Linked DNA regions of Homo sapiens: all the other regions are linked to region 1. The links are contacts of gene promoters, found by promoter capture Hi-C in blood cells and fetal thymus (Javierre and others, 2016). All regions are on one chromosome and are shown on one strand. Each heading gives the region's core, a stretch centred on a gene start or on the middle of the fragment in contact. The rest is flanking DNA. Distances are from core to core; before and after follow the strand shown. Region 1 holds the start of CACNA2D1-AS1 (CACNA2D1 antisense RNA 1). Region 2 overlaps LOC105369146 (a long non-coding RNA gene). Region 3 overlaps LOC105369146 (a long non-coding RNA gene).

Region 1 (2,700 bases), core at 108-2,607:
CTAACCTTTGATATCTGAGATTGCATTTTATAGTTACTTTATAAAGAGCCACAAAAACTAGTAACTCATTTTGAATATCTATTAAAATTTATTTTTAAAATATCAAGGAAAATATCTTGGAAATAATTAGGACCTACTAGGCACCTACTGAAGCATGCAACATTTAAAATAATCCTCTAAGATAACTTCAAAAATAATCAGCTTACACAAATAGTCAACAGCCTGTATGCATTTCAGTAACCCTGTGTCCTCCCCCTTTTTCATAGTGATAGTTCACCTAATATCAGGGCCTCCATAAGCAGAGTGATAATAAAATATTATTTTAAGTGATTATTTAGCTTCCCTTTTTGTAGCCTTATTCTTTATTTTTTATGCCCTAAGCCAAAGACTTCATGCTAAATGAAAAATGTGCAGTTGAATAACATGATAAATAAAAGAAACATTCTATTGATACTGCATATCTGGGATATTCTAAGTAAATGTTACGCTCTTCAGAAGCAGTACTACTTTTCTAAGTAGACCCCAAAATAAGCAGTACTTTTTGACAAGTAAAATTATGAAGAAAAGACAACTGCAAGCATCAAATATAAAAGTCTAGTCTGAAGAGTTTAACATAGTAGAACTAATGCCATCCTATTAATCAGCACATAATTTAATACATTAAATGAATCCATACAGATTAGTCAAAATAAACTGATTTTCAAGTCAGAGTTTGCTTTTGTTACTGACATCTATATCCATTATAATTTTAACCATTTCATGTCAAAACTACATTTAACAAAATCACTCTTTAAAATAATTTTTATTGTTTGAAATTTTGAATTTGCTAAATGAGAAATTATTATTAATCTTCTCACGAATAGTGATTCCAAATCCAAATCTCAAGAACTCAGAACAGAGTTCTGGAATCAGAACCGAGTTCATAAAGTTGGATTTGGAATAATTATTCACTAGAACATTAAAAATATTTATTAATATCAGGGAGCAAATGTTGTGGTATCAGGTTGTGGTTCATAATTGTGCACATAGGAGGCCCAAATTCAATGGGAATATGAATGAATTAGGGAGGAGAGACAATAATAGAGAAGCTTCCAGAAGACCAAAATACCAAATTATTTGCAGCAAATAAAACTAAGGAAACAACCATACATATTTGGGTGCATGATGATTGATATGGTTTGGCTGTGTTCCCACACAAATCTCATCTTCAGTTGTAGTTCCCATAATCCCCACGTGTTGTGGGAGAGATCCAGAGGTAATTGAACCATGGTACGGTTTCCCCCATGTTATTCTCGTGATAGTGAGTAATTTCTCACGAGGTCTGATGGTTTTTAAGTGGCTTTCCCCTTCGCTCAACACTTATTCTCTCTCCTGCTGCCTGGCGAAGAGATGCTTTCCGCCATGATTTTAAGTTTCCTGAGGCCTCCCCAGCCACATGGAACTGTGAGTCAATTAAACCTTTTTTCTTTATAAAGTACTCAGTCTTGGGGATTTCTTCACAGCAGTGTGAGAACAGACTCATACAGTGATAGACACATGTTGGCGCTTATAAAGTCCTAACCAAGAACATTAGACAATGAAACATCCTTAATTATATAAATTAATGCTTCCAATGAAAACCTCCCACCTCAATAAAGTCAGGCTATAGATTAATTCGTAAAACTGGTATCCAAAAGATAATTTAGTAAGGATTTGGTGAAGTGTCTGTTAGAGCTATAATCTATATGCATGGTTTTAAAAATGCTACCATGGTTTAAGACAAGGTAGATATGGATGTAATCATTTCCTTTGCATTACTTTTGCATTTATACTGCATACCATAATTTGCTTCTAAAAATGGTAAAATGTAGCCTAAAGTGAGTTACTAGATTACTAACATATTAAAGATAATTATGAATGAACTCATTTGGGCCCAACTTGAATTTTTTTCTCATTTACTAAGCAGACCAAAAACTTGTACTCTACTCCTGAGTACTGCACATGTCTCTAGAAAATAAGAGAGAAATAAAACAAGATTTCTCTACCCTGGAATTTTAAAAATATTTTCTAGAGCCCAACTCTTGTCATATCTCTTTTTATAAAGAGCTTCACTTTGTCTCCTAATTAAAATGAACTCTCCACAATATTGTCCTAATCTCCCCTTATTACCAAAAATGACCAAGGTATCATTTTTTTGATATACTCAGTGCTTCCCCAACTTTTATGCTATACCCCATTTTTATGGTTTCACTTTTCACCACCAATTGCAAAAATCTTACACTAATATCAGCTAAAATGTCTCCATTTTCTTAACCACAACCCACTTTGCCCCCAATATTGGCTTCATTTTGAAGTCAGAATTCTTTTTCTCATTATATCCATTATATTTCGTTTTGAAATATATTTACCTTTTCCTTTTTAATATAACTGTTTATTTTTGACCAACATATATTTTTAATCTGCTGTGTGGAGAGATTATAAACAAATAACTAGGAATATATGAGGATCACTTTATCATCTTCAAAACAGTAAAAATAACGCTATATGTGTCCAATGAATAGCAAATTCACGTGTTCCTTTTTTTTTTTTTTTTACATTCAGTTTCAGCTTATAGCACAGCACATTTAGAACCAACATTTCCTCCTAATGTCATTTGTGCTATCAGTAAGAACCTTACCAGCAATGCAGACATGCTGGCTAATGAACTTCCAGTCAAAGGAA
Region 2 (2,700 bases), core at 141-2,640, 460 kb before region 1:
TATTTTTGAAGTGTTTATCAGTCACACTTAAGTGGTTTCTAGTTTTTGTTTTGATGAGGCAATGACGAAAATCCAATCTTAACTATGTACAAGCAAAAGAACAACAATTTTCATCACTTTCTTCTCCAGCTATGGAAATGTTTCTAGTTTATTCATTTATGGAACACTTGTATAGTGCTTATTACTATGAGCCACTCAGTACTTTACAAATATTTGCTTTTAAAAACCTCATGTCTACCTTCAGGGGTAGGCACTACTATTATCACCATTTTACAATGAGGAATCAAGTTAAGAAAGGTTCAATAACTTGCCCAGCTTCACAAAAAACCTTAAGTGGTGAACCTGGGATTCTTAGCCAAGCATTCTGGCTGAAGAATCTCTGCTCTAAACATCATGCAGTGGTATAAAAGAAATTTGGCAACATCATTGTCACTAAATACATGTGCATATAGTTAATGGCTCTAGCGGTTAGTAGGCATCCAGGTTAAAGATGAATAGATTCAGTATCCATTTATTTTTATTTTTTTGGCATGAAAAGCTTTCCAAGAGAAAAATAGCCACAGACAGACATTCAGCTCTTGGTAATGCCTTCATGCTTCAGATGGTCATTTCTGAATTTTCTAACATCTCTCTGTTAGAAAGCAAAATTCTTAAAATTTCTTTTCCAAAGAGGCAATTTTCTTATAAAACTAGATAAATTTAATGGGGTTGTTGCCATGTACTTTCAGACTAGTTCCTTAAAACAGCAGTCAGTTTTAAGAATTTGACTATTCATAAACACATTCAAAGAAAGACAAACATTAATTTATATCATTGACTCTATTAGTATTTTTAGAGGTAAAAGAAATAGCTTATATTTTTACATGTCCAGTTTAAAGCACTATACTCCTTTTAGTGTTTACAAATAAAGGGCATGTGTTTGGTAACAGTTTCTTTAAAAGAATCACTGAAGTGACAGTGATTATTTAGAAAATATGCTCTAAGAAAATTTATCATGCTCTTTGCAGGAGACAAAAGAGCCTTCCATTTTTTTTAATCCAAATTCTTGTCAGCAAGTACATGATGGGGTAATAGACAATATATGATTATGCTACTTTTTTATATATCAGTAAAGATATTCTTAATTTTTCTTCAGATCTAGGCAGGAGCATTATCGGTGAATATTGATTTACTTACCTTGTGTGTTACAGATACAAAAATTTTGTCTTTGATTAGATAAATGTACATTTCCTTGCAGTTATTTTCTTTGTTTCACAAGAAAGGCCTCCTTCTATGTGCTTTTCCTAATTTACATAAGGTACAACACTGATAGCCAAGAGAAGCCACCAAGGTCACACCCATTTAAAAGGACAAGTTTTTATAACTTTGTAAAAACTTGTTTCAGGTATCAGGACTCAACTCACAAATTATGATTTGATAAGAAAATCTGTTGAAACTTCTTCAGCTCATCTGGTCTCAGAACTATTTTTCAATTTTCCAATAAATTGTTTTTCTCACTTTTTACAAATAACGTGAGGCTCCTTGTCTTGTAACAATGCAACTTGGTTGGATGCTTCTAGTAACAAGTTCTCAACCGACACAATACTAAATGACCTACAGCTTATTTTATTACAATAAATAGTGCCCTTGTAAATATCAGGACCACATTTAATTTTCACTAATGAGCACTTTGTTGAAATATTCAGAATGCCTTGGTGATTTGAAACTAGGTACAATGTAAACATTGTAGTCACTAATTTCTAATCATTGTCATTGCAAAAATGATCTATAAAAAGTTATTTTTTCATATTTCTTTTACAAAAGGTATACTCAAATATGCCAATACTACCTAGAGCTTCTGTGCAGATTTATTGTGAAGTAAACACCATAACATATGTTAATAATTAGCATCTCAATAACAATTAGCAGCTCACTAATATAAAATAAAGCCACAACACTGTCATATTATCATCTGTACTGAAGTCAGAAATAAATCTCACAACAGGAGGAAGTAAACAATACCTGTTCACGAAGTCAACTTACAAAAGTACACTAGCCTGTGCATTGTACCCAGGTTCAAAGCCACTTCTCCCCAGTCATTTCGGGTTACAGCCAGTGAAATGGGTGTGAAATAGCTGTGCATTGGTCTGTAAGTTATGGCTGTTTTCTAAGAGTTCGTAATTTTAGATTCTGAGCCCATTTTCTGCCAAATTTTTTTCTTCAGGAATTTTCTGCTGCTTAGGTGGATGTTAGGCCTCTCTAGGGAAGCTTTGCTTTTGTTTCTGCCAGGAATTCCTCACAATAAAACACCAAGACCCCTTTCCTTTTAACGTCTTGTCTGGGTTTTCCAATAATTTGCAGTGTGCATAATTCAAACCCAATATATTTCCTTTACATTTTGGAGGACGCGTTTTCCCCTTAATTCAGAGCCTAGGCCTAGATGGGCAAACTTTCTTATTGTCTACTCCAGGCTAGCGTGTGAAGGTGTCCTTTCCAAGTTTTCATCCTGAAGGACCTCTTATTTTATGAGGTTCCAACTGCCTGCCCTTATTGCTCCCAAAGTTTTACTTCCTGTTTCCAAGTGGCTGTGAAACCTAAACCTCTTCTTTACAGAGAAGATGCTCTCAGGGCACTTGGCATCATTGAGGAGCCTCTGTTTTTGGCCCCTGAAATATCCCCTAATTTTTTTTGAGGTCACATTTCCACATTAAAGGCTAGTTA
Region 3 (2,887 bases), core at 39-2,538, 490 kb before region 1:
TTGTGAAATAAAGCAGATATACTGAACTACTAATACTACTGATTGGAATATGCAGCAGGTCTTCCATGAACAATATATTATAAGACAATATATTATTTAAATTTCAATTGTCTCACACTAAAAAGTCATAGAATAGCACTTATGACCTCTAATGGCTTGATTATGGGGGTTCTAGCGTAGTATCATCACTGTAAGCATAGTGTCAATTTATAAAGAAGCAATGAGAATTGTTTAAGAACAAGCACTTTATGGTTATAAGAACAAGAATTATTAAATGGGAAGAGCATGAGTTAGTTAATTGAATTGAAATTATCCATGGATTTTCTTATGAAGCTTGTTACCTTTAAAACTGAATCCATATCAATACTATGCAGCCATAAAGAAGAATGAGTTCATGTCCTTTGCAGGAACATGGTTGAAGCTGGAAGCATCATTCTCAGCAAACTAACATAGGAACAGAAAACCAAACACCGCACATTCTCACTCATAAGTGGAAGTTGAACAATGAGAACACATGGACACAGGGAGGGCAACATCACACGCCCGAGCCTGTTGGGGGTTGGGGGGGCTAGGGGAGCGAGAGCATTGAGACAAATACCTAATGCATGCAGGGTTTAAAATCTAGATGACGAGTGGATAGGTGCAGCAAACCACCCTGGCACATGTATACCTATGTAACAAATCTGCATGTTCTGCACATGTATCCCAGATCTTAAAGTAAAATTTTTTAAAAAAGGGAATCCATATCTTTAATGAGGAATCAACAAGCCTAAAGAGAGTAAGCATTATTAAAAAGGATAAAGTAGAAGGACAATATCCTTAGTGAGTATAATAATATTCGTTATCCAGAAATTGTCAAAAGACTTTCAAAAATATTTATATGATTATTTATGGCTTTTATTTATTGGTGGCTTCCAAGTTCATCTCTTGACCTAATTTTCTAGACCTGTAATTTTTCAACAATCTTTTTGCCATCTCCTCTATATTTTTGGACTCTGAGAACATGTTGGAAGGAAGAATTATTCCTTCTCCAATATCATTATGACTACCCTTTAAGCTAGTTCTTAACATTAAGCACTAGGAGACTCTGCCAGTCTTGAATCCTCAGTTCCCATTTCTGAGGTGCTGTTTCTATGACATGGGCTTTAATATATTATGCCAATGTTGCTTGCCAGAATTAATCTTGGCAAAAGACCATGATTTCTCTAACTGAATCTCCAGTTACAACACAATATAGCACATCCACGTTTCTAAATGTTCCCAATTAAAATATTAGAACTATTGGTCTGTGGAAAATTGTTTGATACAAATCTACAAGAGAGAGAGAAAGTTTTTAGCTATTTATAACCTTTAAATAATTGGAATTATTAAACTTCTGGAATGCTCATACTCTAAAATTTTGTTACATTTATTTATTAAATAAATTTCAATAACTAAAACAAACAGCCAATTTATCTGGGATATTTTTAAAAACTGTTCCCTATTAAAGAGACATAAATTAAGTTGGAATTATCTTTAATAAGAAAAAGATTTTAATTTCTGTATTGTTATATACTTAGCTAATATATTATACATTTTTAAATATTTATTAAAGAAACCAAAGCTATCTATATTTTATTTTTAATACATGATCTCAATATAGAAATTATAATTTTAATATTATTTCTTATTATTTTCTTCTTGCATTCTGGAGATAGGATAGATTTTTTAAGTGTAAAATTTGTGTCAATTATTAGAATACAAATAAGATAAACTTCTGGACAATTTGGACAGCTAAGAGCCATTTCCTTAATATAAATTTCAGTTAAATGAATTATTTTACATGAACGCTTAGTAGAGTTGAGCCAATTTTTAAATAATAACATGCCAAGCGAAAATGGACACTATATACTGTTTGCTATTACCTGAAGGAGGGTAGTAGTCATAAAATTATGAAGCTGAGAACTCACTCTGCAAGAGGAAAGTAAGAGCCTGAGTACTTGTAAATAAGGCATTCTCTTGCAGAAATGTTTAGAGAAAGTGTGAAATTTTTATATTTCTTTTAACATGATAGACAGTTATTTGTATGAATATTCAATGCCTATTGGGGGTTCATGGACAGACAAACAGGTTTATATATTACCCTTAGTGTTTTAAAATTTTGGCTCTCATAGATTAACAGACTAAATGGTGATAATTTTGGCAAAACTCTTTGAATGTAATATTCTATAAATTATATTACATATAAGTTGGTGACAAGTTCATGAAGCTTTTATTTTGGTCTCTACCTATATATTTACCAACTATAAAAAACAAAATGGAATTCTGAATTTCCCAAATCAGGTAAAATTAGTAAATTTTTCAGTTCATAAAATAATCAACTCTATTAAAGAATCTCACTGTATTTCATGTTATTTTTAACTATATTTGACACCAAATCTCTCAAGAACAAACCCATCTTCAAATGTGAAGAATACTTACTATATATTATAAAGATTACAAACACCATCACTTTTAAATTTATACAATACTAATTTAACATAAAATGATTCTTTACATTTTTGTTAACATAAACTAGTTTGCTTTTATTCTTGTTGAAATTAGTACTTAACCTGGGCAACTTCTATTATTTACAGTGATATAATGTTTTAGTTTTAACTAGAACTTTAATAATCAACATTAGAGTATGCCATAGCGGTTAAGCTCAAGGAGTTTGTTTCTATTTGATAAGATAGAACTGGAAACATGAAACAAAAACGATGTGCTAACTCCAGTGTTACTGTTAAAGTTCAGAAGACACAGTGATAACAGTTAAGAAACAGTTTATAGAAGACTAACAGGCAGTAACATTCAGAATTTACCATAATGTCATATAAATATTTTTGGCTTGTTTACATTTTGAATAATC

What was found. Contacts are between HindIII fragments. The CHiCAGO score rates a contact against its expected background, and 5 or more counts as called.
Region 2: a contact is called between a fragment that was not itself captured here and the fragment with the promoter of CACNA2D1-AS1 in region 1, in 2 of 17 cell types (erythroblasts and M2 macrophages). The highest score is 5.3, in erythroblasts.
Region 3: a contact is called between a fragment that was not itself captured here and the fragment with the promoter of CACNA2D1-AS1 in region 1, in 4 of 17 cell types (M2 macrophages, M1 macrophages, megakaryocytes and 1 more). The highest score is 7.4, in M2 macrophages.

Annotation. Positions count from the first base shown.
Region 1 is chr7:82,007,820-82,010,519 of GRCh38, forward strand. CACNA2D1-AS1 (CACNA2D1 antisense RNA 1) reads left to right here and starts at 1,358. Exons shown (of 4, transcript NR_110077.1): 1 at 1,358-1,443. All of the region lies in intron 15 of CACNA2D1 (calcium voltage-gated channel auxiliary subunit alpha2delta 1), which reads right to left. The HindIII fragment of the contact is 1,784 bases long and covers 1,087-2,700 here.
Region 2 is chr7:81,545,736-81,548,435 of GRCh38, forward strand. The region is part of intron 3 of LOC105369146 (a long non-coding RNA gene); the gene reads right to left. Among named protein-coding and RNA genes, the nearest start is that of HGF, 220 kb to the right of the region's middle. The HindIII fragment of the contact is 1,709 bases long and covers 537-2,245 here.
Region 3 is chr7:81,518,930-81,521,816 of GRCh38, forward strand. The region is part of intron 4 of LOC105369146 (a long non-coding RNA gene); the gene reads right to left. Among named protein-coding and RNA genes, the nearest start is that of HGF, 250 kb to the right of the region's middle. The HindIII fragment of the contact is 1,915 bases long and covers 332-2,246 here.